Linked DNA regions of Homo sapiens: regions 1 and 3 are each linked to region 2. The links are contacts of gene promoters, found by promoter capture Hi-C in blood cells and fetal thymus (Javierre and others, 2016). All regions are on one chromosome and are shown on one strand. The core of a region is centred on a gene start or on the middle of the fragment in contact, and the rest is flanking DNA. Distances in the headings are between cores, read along the strand shown. Region 1 overlaps LINC02589 (long intergenic non-protein coding RNA 2589). Region 2 holds the start of TMEM31 (transmembrane protein 31). Region 3 holds the start of RAB40A (RAB40A, member RAS oncogene family).

Region 1 (4,630 bases), core at 1,411-3,910, 160 kb after region 2:
CACCCACAGGATTGCTGGAAGCTTCAGTGATACAGGTGCAAGCCGGTAGGTAGCCCTGTGGTTATTGCAGGATGGTGAATGTCTGTATGAATTCAGGCCTCTTATTCCTTTTCAAATTTGTTATTGGGAGACAGATGGGAAAAGGAGAAGAAAAAGGCCCTGGTGAGAATCCCATTGTATCTCTGGTTGTTATGATCACTACCCAGTTGTATTATTGTCACTGGTCACTGACTCAGTGCCTAGCTTAATGCCTGGCACATAGTTACTCCAAGAAAGCACAGTGATTGCTGGCTTCTCTCTGTCCCTGTGCAGCTCTTCATCAGGTGATTGAGCTCATATCAGGTGTCTGAAGAAGGTAGGTTTTGAGGATCAGGGTCGTGATGGCTGCTGAAGCTTCTACTCCAGATTTGAAGGGCAGCAGTACTAAGGAGACCCCCAACACTTCCATCCCTGGTGGGATATGACACCTGGCTCAAGTGAGCTCATAGATCTGGACAGAAGCATGTTGTGGAATAGCTCTGTGAGGTTTATAAAATAGCCTACAAGCAGAGAAATTCCTTTGATCTCATCATTGGAGAAGAGGTTTAGCAGGTGGAATTTCCTTCCATCAGCAGCTATGTGCTTTGTGGTAGCTTCTGAGGCCCATGTTAAAGATGCCTTTCATTGTCACAAAGCAATGAATAGTTCATTTGGGGAAGCAACTGGATGTTTAACATGCATTTGCTATAGATTTACATATATTTTTCTGCCTATATAAATAATCATCAGTGATTCCTATGTATCTCTCAAATGGATATGGAAATATGCAGTCGTTAGGTCTTTCTAGCATTTTGAGATTGTAATATAAATTATATAAATTATCTCCTGGTGACCATGGTATTTTTCCATCCTATAATGATTTTTTAAGCCAGAAATTTTGCAAGTGTTAGTTAAAATGTCAGTTACTATACCTTAATAGTTTCAGAAATAAGAATTACCCTAGAATTCGCTCTATTATAATGATACTAAGCCATGTTCCCTAAAGTAAACAGTTACTCTTAAGTATCATCATCATTATTTTCTTAGAATGTAATATTTTTATTTTTGTACTTCAAAAAGAAATGAACATCCACTTTTCCAAAAATATTTAAACACTGCAAGTGATTATTATGGTTGTATGTAGTGCAGAACAATTTGATCAGACATAGTAATGATCTGGTAATATAACAAGAGTGTAGTAGTTGGAATCTTTTGGATGATTTAATTGCATCAAAAACTTATACAAATGTATTTCAAATACTTTCTTTGAGCCATGTTGACATACGATATACCGTACATGTTTAAAATATATAGTTTAATAAGTTTTAACATATGTATGCTCTCTCTGGTGAATCCAATATTATAGTCAAGATAATGAACATATTCATCACCTCAAAAAGCTTCCTTATGCACCTTTGTAATCCTCTCCATCTGTCTCTAGCTTCCCTCTCCATGCCAACCTGTCCCATTCCCGGACAATCACTGGTCTCCTCTTACCATAGATTAGTTTTTGTTTCTTGCCCTTTTAAGTAAATGGAATCATAGGATGCTTATTCTCCTTTGTCTGACCTAATTCATTTGTTAACCCCAAAAAAAGTGACTGAGGCAAGTGTCTCAATCACTAGAGGTTTATTGAGCCAAAGTTTGAGGACATGCCTGGGAAAACTGCAAGTCACAGGAGCATCTCTGACTTGTGCTTTACAAAGAGGGGTTTGGGAACTCAGTATTTAAGGGCAGAGAGCAAGCAAGAGGGAAAAAGGGAGAGAGGGTAGGCAGTGAGGCAAATGGTTACATTCTTGTGAGGCTCTAATTAGCGGTCAGTAAATCTGAGTTTTACATAAGATAAGATTTGAAAAGAGAGAGGAAAGAGTCAATTATGTATTCGTTTCAGGGTAGGTGGAAGAGTGATTGATCTTGTCTTTGTTCTGGAAAGATAAGCTTGTAACTGACACTGTCAGTGTAAGATTTAACAAAACTCAGTTTTAGGAGTTAAACTTAGGTTGCAGACTTAAGGTTACAATTGGCATGTGCTGGTTTTATAGGGGGATATGTATCCTGAAAGATTTAGGGGCTAGCAAGGAATTTCCTTGTGAGCAATATTTGAGGAAGGTCATCTGGGAAGGTATAATGCCTTTTACTGTTGTGGGAATCTGGATTATGTATTACGCTATGACACAGGGTTGTGAAATTACAGTTATCTGGGGACAAAGGTTGGTAATGTTGCACAATTCATTTCCCAGGCTTAACTTTTCCCTTGGCATGATGAATTTGGGAATCCTGAAATTTCATGTTATTTTACATATTTGACCTAATTATTTTTAGATTTATCCATATTGTTGTATATATGAATAGTTCCAAATTTGTTATGCTTTGGATGTTGCTGTTTGTGTCATATCTAAGAAATCTTCTCTGAAGCCAAGACTGCAACAATTTTCTCTTGTGTTTTCTTCTTGAAAATTTATAGTTCTAGCTTTTAAATTTAAATCTTCTTTTATGATCCACTTTGAGTTTTTTATGATGTGGTGTATAGATAAAAGCTTATTTTTGTTATCTACCTGTTCCAGCACAAGTTGTTGAAAGGATGATCTTTCTGCACTGAATTGTCTTTGCATTGTTGTCAAAAATCAGTTGTCCTTATATTTGTGGGTCTATTTCTGGACTCTATACTTTGTTCCTTTGATATACATTTCTTCCTTGAAGGCAATAGTGCACTGTTTTGGTTAATGTAAGTTTATAATGAAGCTTAAATTAGGTAGTGTTTTTCCTCCAACTTTGTTCTTTTACAATGTTGTTTTTCATAGTTTAGGGTCATTTGCATTTCCACATGATTTCTGGAATAAGTTTATTGATTTCTTCTTAAAAATATATGCTAACATTTCTATTGGAGTTGCATAGAATCTATACATCAGTTTGAGGAGAGTAGATATCTTAACAATACTGAGTGTTCTGACTCATGATGATGGCATTTCTCTCCATTTATTTAGGTCTTCTTTAACTTCTCTCCTCAATGTTTTGTGGTGTTCAATGTACAGGCCTTGCACACATGTGGACAGATTATCCTCAGGTATTTTACACTTTTTGATGCTATTATAAATGGCAGTATTTCTTTTTTTAGGCTAGAGTGCAGTGGTATGATCACAGCTCACTATAGCTTTGGGCTTCTGGGCTCAAGTGATCCACCCATCTCAGCCTACCGAGCAGGTGGGACCACAAGTGCATGCCACCATGCCTGGCTAATTAAAAAATTAAAAAAAATTTTTTTAATAGAGGTAGGGTCTTGCTTTGTTGTCCAGGTGGGTCCCAAACTCCTGGTCCCAAGCAATCCTCCCACCTTGGCCTCCCAAAGTGCCGGTATTATAGGCATGAGCCACCATGCCTGGCCTAATGGTAGTATTTTCAATTGCAATTTCAATGTATTATATTTTTACTGAATTGTCAGAAGCTGAGTGTTTAATACTAGCTGCTGGGGAACCTTTTTGGTTGAAAGCACAGGCTACTCTAGGATAGAAAAGATGCTTAATACTTAATGTCTGTATTAGTCAAGGTTCTCCAGAGAAATAGAACCAATAAGATATCTATATATCCATATATCTTTATATATGTATCTTTATATATATACATATAAAGATATTTATTTTAAGGAACTGGTGTATGTGATTTTGGACGCTTGGTGAGTCCAAAATTTGATGGGGGAGTCCAGCAGGCTTCAGACTCAGGAAAGAGTTGAAGTTAAAGTCCAAAGGCGGTGTACTGATAAACCAGGAAGAGCCAATATTACAGATGAAATCTGAAGAGTGAGCTGGCAGAATTCCCTCTTCTTTGGAGGATATCAGCTTTTTATTCTATTTAGGACTCCAGCTGACTGGATGAGGCCCACCCACACTGGGGAGGGCAATCTGCTTTACTTAGTCTGCCAATTTAAATGTAAATTTCATCCAAAAACACCCTCACAGAAACATCCAAAATAACGTTTGACCAAATATCTGGGCATTATGACCCAGCCAAGTTGACACATAAAATTAGTCATCACAGCATACATTTGCCAGTGTTTCCACTATCAGCTTTTATAAGTCATTGGTAATATACTGAAACCAGGGAGAAAATGTCACTGAGACATTTTTCTAAAGATCATCTCCAGAAAAATGAATTACTAAAATAAAATAGTTTTGTAGCTCTTGACTTTGTGTGTGGGTAGATTTTAATTGTGGAGTTTTCTTTTTATACTCCCAAACAAATCTACCTTGATGAATTCTTGGATACTTGGGTGATGAGAAAAAGAGGGAGAGAGCATGTATGTATGTGGGTATCTAGGTATGTATGAAGGTGTATATTGCTGAAGCTGCCGGGAATGTTTATTGTGAGAAAAAATTGAGGTTAATTACTGTGCATCATGTCAGTCCTATTCAGTTCTTAGCACATGTTAGGAATAAGATCGAGGAGGTGGTTGGTTTTTTGTTTTGTTTTGTTTTTTCCTCCCAGCTTTCCCTGGCCAGCATGGTTACCATGGTGACTCAGTGATTGCTATGGGATTTGGTGCAGAATGAAAATCTATTTACGATTCTTGCTTGAATCATTTACTACTGTGATAGTTGTCAGGGTTGCTTTTATAATT
Region 2 (4,665 bases), core at 89-2,588:
AAAGTGATCACCTGGGGAAATATAAAAGAAATCTTGTCGTCATGACAACAGAGGCAGTTTACCCCCAATTGCCCAGACAATAGGTGCTAGGTAAGTTGTCATGACAACAGAGGTGCCTGGGCCAGCCTCACAGAAGCAAGTGTCCAATTATGAGCAAAGCTGAAAGGCTTAACTGAGCTACATACTGGTTGCTTAACCATTAGAGACACAGAGTTCTGGTCTGTCTTCAGCTCTGACTCCATGTTTTCTGTCTAATCTGGAGGCTCTAAAGCCAGAGAGGCAAGAGCATAATGACCTCTGGGGGATGGGAAACAATGCTGTGAACCCACTCTTAAAATCCTGACTCTAGCTTGTCTGGGCCACACTAGCACAAGGAATGTTCTCTCCTCAACACACCACCTCCCACCTCAGCTGCTCCAGGGGCACCCCTACCGTATGTCCGCACTAAAAATATCTCACAAACTACCTCCTTGGTTTCATGTCCCTTGCTAAGGTTCCTTTCTGCTGAGGGCAGGGCTCCTGTCTCATCTAGTGGTTTGAATTTATCAGTCCCTACCCTTTAGTCCTTTAGTTGGTCCCTGGGCAGTACGCCCTCTAGTGGACTAATCCACAACTACATGTCCTCGAGTAGGACTCATTCTTCAAGAAACCTAAAAGCATTTCCTAACCCATACCAAGGGTTAGAAAAATATGTGTATACACCTAGCAGAAGGGCAAGAAAAAAGGACACTCCATTTTCTTTTTTCTTTTTTTTTTTTTTTTTGAGACGGAGTCTCGCTCTGTCGCCCAGGCTGTAGTGCAGTGGCGTGATCTGGGCTCACTGCAAGCTCCGCCTCCCGGGTTCACGCCATTCTCCTGCGTCAGCCTCCTGAGTAGCTGGGACTACAGGCGCCCGCCACCACGCCCGGCTAATTTTCTGTATTTTTAGTAGAGACAGGGTTTCACCGTGTTAGCCAGGATGGTCTCGATATCCTGACCTCGTGATCCGCCCGCCTCGGCCTCGCAAAGTGCTGAGATTACAGGCGTGAGCCCCCGCGCCCGGCCAGGACACTCCATTTTCTAAGCTAACTGTCCCCACCCCCTCTTTAGCTGTGTCGAACAAATCTGCCTGCAGGTACCAAGATCTTATCTTTATAGGAGTTTTGATCTTGGTGCCTTCTCAATGCCTACCTTGGAAAAAAAAAAGCAGACTGCCAACCAATCCAGAGTCCTTTCACCAGCTAAGTTGCCTGTATGGATGTCCCAGCAACAAAAAGGCTGCCATTGTTACTGTAGAGCTATTCCAGGTTGACTCTAGTCCCACCTCCTTTCCTGAACTCCTGCAACCCGCAACTGCCTGCAGCCTGTCCCCTCCTGCTCATATATATAGGCTGATCCTGAGCTCATAATGGAGTCTGTCATGACCAGTGCTCAATTATTACAAAGTTACAACAGCAGCCTGGGCCTTGCTTAGGACTCTGGGGCCTGCCTAAAAGTGGGCTGAGGCTTTTTTTAACGTGAATTATTATTATTATTAACGTGAATAAAACTGAAAATCAAACCCGTGCCATTCGTCATGTCCTTTTTTGAGTCTTCTAAAGTCACTGTTATCCCAGGACCTGTAGCAGGTATTTTGGAGGCACCAAGCAGGCTGAAAAAATTGTTGGAGAGTTCATCCATTTCTAGAACCTCTGTCCGGGCCCTACTGCTCCAGCTAGGGAAAAAGAATTCTTCAGTCTGAGAGGGCAGGGAGAAAATCCATGTGATCTCCAGGGAACCCTTAGCCAAGAGTCAGTTAGGAGTGTTCTAGGAACCAGCCAGCCATTCACATCTTTTCTTCTCAACTCTCTCCTCAACCAACAACTCCATAGCATGGTGGCCCCCTTTCATGTCACTGCCTAAAGTGGTTTACTTTTTACCCATGCAATCCTACACTGTCTTCCCGGCTAGTCCATAAGCTTCCCCAGGAAAGGGAAGCTCTTTTTCATCTCCTCAGCAGGCCTTAGCACCAGGCTCTGGACACAGCAGTCATGTAACCCAGCTCACCAACTTTTACAGGCTGATTGGAGAGGACTGTCTTTCAAACTGGACAGAGCAAAAGCTTTGCCATGATCAATAGAATAACTTGATAACTGGAAGAAATTTCAAAATACTGCCCAGTCCTCTCAAGGGCTTGGTCCCAGAACCCTGCCCACCTCTCTTCATCCTCCAGCACCCTCTTCATTCCCCATTCTCTAATCCCTTTTTTTCTAGCCCCTCTCACTTCAATACAAATCACTCTTTCCCATCTCCACACTTTACCTCCTACACTGTGCATTCCCTCCTTAGCGTGGTTTTGAGATATCTTCCCTCTCTAGCTTCTCAGTCCTTCTCCCCTATAGATAGCCAGGGGAAAAAAAGTTCTATTTTAATAGGCATGTAAGCCACAAAGTGGTATTTAAGGCTCCAATGTTCCTTTCCAGCACACACACACACACACACACACCCCACACACAAACACCCCTCAGAATTTGGCCTAAATAGAGAATACCCAAATGCAGGATGCCCCACCCCTGGATTTCAAGCCATTCATCTTTGCTCCTCCAGCTACAACAGGTGCAGTATGTTAAAGTCACAAAAAGCCAAGACCAGCTTACTCTGTTGGCCATATTTTCTCTCCTGTGTGAAATGGCTTTTTCCAGCCTGGGAAATGTGTCCAAATAACTCCCTTTAGATTTATTATGATTGGAGAAAAGGGAAAATAATTAGATCTATAGAAACAGAAATAGCAGTTGGATCCAACTTTCCCCCTCAGAGCTTTTTTGCCAACATCCTTTGCTTACATCCTCTAGCCAGGGTAGGGCTCAGGGGATCAGGGTGAGTACTGGGCAACAGGGTCATCTGAGGGACCCTGAACTGGAAATCAAAGGAGAAAACCATTTTACTTACTCCCCTCATTTTAAAATTATTGCAAAATATTTTGTTTGCCTCTGGTTCTTCACCTCGAAAATGGGTCCAGCACAACCTCCTTTGTCAGAATAGTGTAAAAATGAATTACAGAGTACATGTGAGGTGAACCAAGGCCTGTCTTTATGATGACAGGTCAGTTTCTAGTCATGTCATTATCAAGGGTTACTAGGACCTACAACACCAACATCTCATACACAAAGCCACTTTTCTTTTTTTTTTTCTTTTTCTTTTTTTTTTTTTGAGATGGAGTCTCGCTCTGTCACCCAGGCTAGAGTGCAATAGCGCAATCTCTGCTCACTGCAACCTCCGCCTCGTGGGTTCAAGCGATTCTCCTGCCTCAGCCTACTGAGTAGCTGGGATTACAGGTGCCCGCCACCACGCCTGACTAATTTTTGTATTTTTAGTAGAGAAGAGGTTTCACCATATTGGTCAGGCTGGTCTCGAACTCCTGACTTCGTGATCCGCCAGCTTCGGCCTCTCAAAGTGTTGGGATTACAGGTGTGAGCCACCGTGCCTGGCAAAGCCACTTTTCAGTGTGTTGCCATAGCTGCAGAGGTCCCACGATAAAGACCCTGTGGTGTCCCTCTAACTGAGAGAGACAGAGTGTTTAAAATCTACTTTATCCACATTTTGTATATATCTATGTCATACCTATACAATATACACATATTTTTTTCTTATAACTTATAATAAATACCTCAGGTAGCCACAGGATGACCAGCTCTTCCTGATTTGCCTTGCACTTCCCCAGTTTCAGCCCTGAAAGACCCAAGTCTTAGGAACACCTTCCGTTCTGGACAAACCGAGATGACAGTTTGCATCGTCCTCCAAGAGGCCATTGCACTTCAGGTGATTTCTTAGATACCTGAAACTTTGACTCTAAAACCATGAATACTTTAAGAAATTACCACCATCTTTGAAGGAAGCATTTCTCAACCCTGTCCTTTAGAAGTAAATAAAATTAGGCTTGTTAGGGTTGCATATAAAATAAGACTAAATAGGCTGTGAATGGGGGCCTGAGGGCCTCATATAAGTAAAGCTCTCTCTATTGACACTCAGAGGTTTTGGTTCTCTCTCTCTCTCTCTCTCTCTCTCTCTCGCTCTCTCTTGCTCTCTTTCTCTCTCAACTTTATCTTTCTGTCCCTACTTCCTGGCTCCTAGCTGCGTTTAGCTACTAAAGGTTGTCAGCTAACTATTGGAAAATGGACTTTTGGCAGTCTGCCGCATTACTTAGTGCTTATATAAAATTTACCCCTCACTGGGCATGTGTTTATCCTAATTTGGATAACTCATTGGGTTATTTAAAACTTTTGGAATTTTCAGTTTTAAGTTGAGATAAATTTTAAAAGATACGATTCAAAAGGGGAATGAATTCTGAAGCTTTTGAAAGTCATTAAAGTCAAGTTTACTAAGACTGAATATCTCAACTTCACTATCTAATAGTTTTGTTGTTTTGTTTATTACCAGTCAGAGATAACTTGACATTGAGATGTCCTCTCACAGTGGCCGGCACTTCACTGGATTTTAGATAACTCTAAATGATGTTTTGCATTTTACATGGGTAGCTTAGAGCCTATCTGCCATGGAATCATGACATACACTATATATAGCACGTAGAGCTGCTTAGCATACATCTATCTCATGAGTAGTGTTGTGACCATAAAAAGCATGCAATGGGCCTGTGTACCCAAGGCACCTTGTCTGCATAACATTCCCTATGAGATATTGATGGGTGGT
Region 3 (4,199 bases), core at 761-3,260, 190 kb after region 2:
ATTGTTTGTGACCCATGAGCATGGTAAGTCCTCCACTTATTTAGGTCTTTAATTCTCTCAGCAATGATGTGTGGTGTTCAGTGTACAGGCACTGCACATCTGTGGACAGATTGTTCATAAATATTTCATACTCTTGATGATGCTATACATGGCTTTGTTTGTTAAACACAATTGCTAATTACTATATTTTCACAGTACTATCAGCAACCAAGTGTTTAACATCAGTGAGGCATTTTTTTGGTTGAAAGCACAGCTTACTCTAGGATGGAAAAGGTATTTGATCCTTAACCTGTGTTTACCTGTATTTCCGTATCTGCTTTTACAAGTCATTGGCGATATATTGAAACTATGGAGGAAAATGTTCCAGAGACAATTCTACAGGTCATCTTCAGAAATCACACCAAAAGAACATAGTTTAGTAGCTTTCAACTTTATATGTGTGGTCAGAAATGATTTTGTTGCAATGTGTGGCTCAGGCTGGAGTGCAATGGTGCAATCATAGCTCACTGCAGCCTTGAACTCCCAGGCTCAAGCAATCCTCTCACCTCAGCCTCCTGAATAACTGACTACAGGTGTGTGCCCCCATGCTCAGCTAAACTTAAAAACATTTTTCAGAGACAGAGTTTTGCTATGTTGTTTAGACTTCTCTCACACTCCTAACCTCAAGCAATCCTCCTACCTCAGCCATCTGAGTAGCTGGGATTATAGCCACGAGCCACCATGCCTGGCGAGATTTACTTCTTTACCCACCAGTAAATCAACCTCAATAAATTCTTGGAATTTGGAGTGGTGAGAGGGTGAGCAAGCATATATGTATGTGAGTATGTATACATTTGTATGTCACTGAAGCTGTCAGGAATTTTTATTGTAAGGACTACTTGAGGTTAATTACTGTGCATCATGTCAATCCTATTTAGTTCCTAGTACATATTAGGAACAAGCTCGGGATAGTGGTGTTTGTTTTTTCTCAGCTTTCCTTGGCCAGAATGGTTACCATGGTGACTCAGTGACTGCGGTGTGATTTGGTGCAGACTGAGCATCCATTTAGGATTCTTGCCCGAATCTCTCACACCACATTGCCTGTCCATCAGATATAGTATTAGCTTTTCATCTTATGTGTAATTAATCACTTTTCAAGGGCTCAGAAGAAAGTTGCTTCACTTATCTGAGGTTAAGCTACAGATAACATAAAAAGACACTAAGTACCTTGAAATAAAAGGAAATGAGTTGTTGATATTCCTCTCCTGCCCCAATCTCTATTGGGAGGTTAGAAGAGAAATTCTTGGAATCATACAGCATGTGCTCTTTTGTGTCTTGCTTCTTTCAGTCAACATAATGTATGTGAAATTAATATTTATTGTGGTCTATATTGTAGATTGCTTATTCTCATTGGTGTAAAGTATTATATTATTTGGATATTTCACACTATATTTATCTGTGATGGAGATTTGTGTATTTTCCAGTTTTTGACATCTCATGAATAATGGTGTTATGAATGTTCATGTTCATTCTTTTGGATGAACATATATTTTCTTTTTTAAAAAAATCTTATTATCAATAATATTTGAACTATTTAATATCTGTCATCTTAAAATTATTATTCATAACACTTTTTACCTTGTAGCTATAGACAAATACATTCCCATTTTAGCAGGTTAATGAAATTATCTTTATAATACTATAGAAGCATTTATTTGAAGAATACCAGAAGGAACATCCTGAAAACCAAGAACTCAAAATGCCTTTTTATCCCAAAGACATGTTTTACAAATATATACCCATTCATCCATTTGTTTTCACAAATGAAGCTACAGAGAACTTTGAATATAATGATGTGCAGCAGGGGCTTATTCCTAACATATTTAAAATTTAGGTCAACCAAACTTCTCTGTGGAAACTGAGTTGAAATCCGAAATCTTACAATCCTAATTTCGAGCCACATTCATTTTAACTTAATTTTAACATGTTTTGCAAAATGTTCCAATATAAACTTAATAGTTCCTATACCACCAAACATGGATCCTCATGATTTTATTTTCTAGATTGGCTGATAGGCTGAATAATCTCCTGTAGGGTAAGAAGTGTCAACTGTATCAAGCACATGGAGGTGGACTGGCTACAGGAGAAAGGTTTTCCAAATCAAATTCCAAGTATTTCTTTCTCTTTTTATATTACCATTAGGAGAAATAACTAATGTAGATGACGGGTTGATGGGTGCAGCAAACCACCATGGCACGTGTATACCTATGTAACAAACCTGTACATTCTCCACATGTATCCCAGAACTTAAAAGTATAATAAAAAAATTTAACAAAATGGTGTTAGATTCAGAGGCTTGATTCAATTTAGATTTGTTTTGGTCAGAAGTACTTCATATGTGGTATTGTTTATTCCTATAGTGTTACACAGGGGGCTCATTGTGTCTAATTGTCTCTCCTCTTGTGATGTTAAGATTAATTACTATGTTCAAGTATTGTTAAGCTGATCCATCCATTATAAAATTTCCCATCCCTTTTTCACCTCGATTTTTCTGCAGCGTCTAAGGATTGTTGCTTAGTTCTATATTCATTAAAGGTCATAAAAGGATGATATTCTAATTCTATAATTTTCTCTGCTTTATTAGCTGGAATTATTCTATTAAATAAACTTTCATAAACCATTAGGTTACACTGAGGGATAGTATGTATAGAAAGGGTTGGATGAGTGCCTAATTCTTTTGCAATATTTCCACTTTTCAAAACAATGAGTTGTTTCCCTAGGGTTCTCCAAAGGCAAGCAATGAGTTGATATTGTTTGTTTTATTTTATTTTTCTTTTAGAGTGTCATCATGAGCTGTAGAAGTTTTTATATTATAATGTGTTTTAATCCATAGTAGTCATTATTTTATTTAATGTTCAAATTGCTTCATCTTTGTCCAGCGAGAGCCCCTTAAGCTTGGCTTCTGAGTCTTTTTGACGCACTCTCTGGCATGATAGTTTGGTCCAGATTCATCTAGTAGAATGGCTACACAGACCTAAACTCAGTCATTTCTCTAAGATAACCTAGTTCCTTTCAGTGTGATGTGTTTTAAGTGGATTCAATATGGGCACTAGAGTTGCTCATTGCTACTGGGTCTATCATGTTTCTTCACCTTTCTAGTGCATGGAGCCAGTGTATATATATTATATTTTTAAGGGAAAAGACATTATTGGCTTCTGTCCTGGGCTGTTTTTCCTTCTCTTTATAGGTAATGATTTTTTAAATCAATTTTCATTAAAACTTTCCAATTTTAAAAATATAAGCAAATAGAATGTTTCTATTAGTTTTCTCCTATTCCATATATATAAGGTGACATATTCTACACTGGTGGAGTCCAATAGAATTTCTACAAAGGTGAAAATATTCTATGTCTCAACTGTCCAACATAGTAGCCACTAGCTACCTGTGACTATTAAACACCTAAAATGTGGTGAGTGTGACTGAGGAAGTGAATTTAAAATTCCATTTAAATTTAGTTAACTTAAATAGCCATGAGTGGCCAGTGGGTATGGTATGGGACAACAGCAGCTCTACACATTTTTCTGCACTTTGCTTTATTCACTTAATGGTATATCCTGGAAATCACTACATAGCAGCAGAGAGAGGGAATCTTCCTTGCTTGTTATACCGGCATTGAAATCTAGGATGTAGATGCACCTTAGATTATTCAGTCAGTCCTTTATTGGTGGACATCTGTCTTATTTCCAGTCTTCTGCTGTTACAATTTGTTCTGCCAAGAATGACCTTGTGCTTCTGCCTTTTTATCTTTTTGAATTGTATCTTTGGGATACATTCTCCGAAGATTGTTGGTTCCAAGATAAAATAATTGTGCCCTATGAAATAGAAGATTTGAAACAGAGAGCATTTAGAAATATAGTAGCAATAAATGAATGTTGGTTTTATCTTATCATTCCTTTGATTCCATGTACTCTCTGCTCTCTTATTTTCTTTCTAGTGTGACGTGGGTGAAGGAGTTCTTATTGAGCCATGGGAGGAAGAAATAGTACAGAAGAGCAAAGAATAATAATGAGTCAGCTAGACAGAAGACAGGAGTCATCAGATTTGTACCCTAGTTACTCGACCCATCAACTGACTGTGGTTTTTGGGGTGAGTCTCTTCCCTCTGTTGGCCTCTGGTCTAACACAGAAGGATACTCAGTATAGAAATAGTGGTTAGGGGAG

The links. The method cuts DNA at HindIII sites, captures the fragments that hold promoters and counts their contacts. A CHiCAGO score of 5 or more calls a contact.
Region 1: a fragment that was not itself captured here is called in contact with the fragment with the promoter of TMEM31 in region 2 in 11 of 17 cell types (naive CD8 T cells, non-activated CD4 T cells, fetal thymus and 8 more); the score reaches 8.8 in naive CD8 T cells.
Region 3: the fragment with the promoter of RAB40A here is called in contact with the fragment with the promoter of TMEM31 in region 2 in 11 of 17 cell types (megakaryocytes, activated CD4 T cells, M1 macrophages and 8 more); the score reaches 8.0 in megakaryocytes.

What each region holds. Positions count from the first base shown.
Region 1 is chrX:103,549,991-103,554,620 of GRCh38, reverse strand. All of the region lies in intron 1 of LINC02589 (long intergenic non-protein coding RNA 2589), which reads left to right. Among named protein-coding and RNA genes, the nearest start is that of LINC02589, 2.6 kb to the left of the region's middle. The HindIII fragment of the contact is 205 bases long and covers 2,558-2,762 here.
Region 2 is chrX:103,707,582-103,712,246 of GRCh38, reverse strand. TMEM31 (transmembrane protein 31) reads right to left here and starts at 1,338. Exons shown (of 3, transcript NM_182541.2): 1 at 1,171-1,338; 2 at 1-11. It also overlaps the pseudogene GLRA4. The HindIII fragment of the contact is 10,178 bases long and covers 1-1,939 here.
Region 3 is chrX:103,517,300-103,521,498 of GRCh38, reverse strand. It overlaps RAB40A (RAB40A, member RAS oncogene family), which reads left to right and starts at 2,010. Exons shown (of 3, transcript NM_080879.3): 1 at 2,010-2,129; 2 at 3,974-4,125. It overlaps LL0XNC01-250H12.3 (a long non-coding RNA gene), which reads right to left. Exons shown (of 6, transcript NR_188440.1): 6 at 3,556-3,851. The HindIII fragment of the contact is 4,467 bases long and covers 1-2,935 here.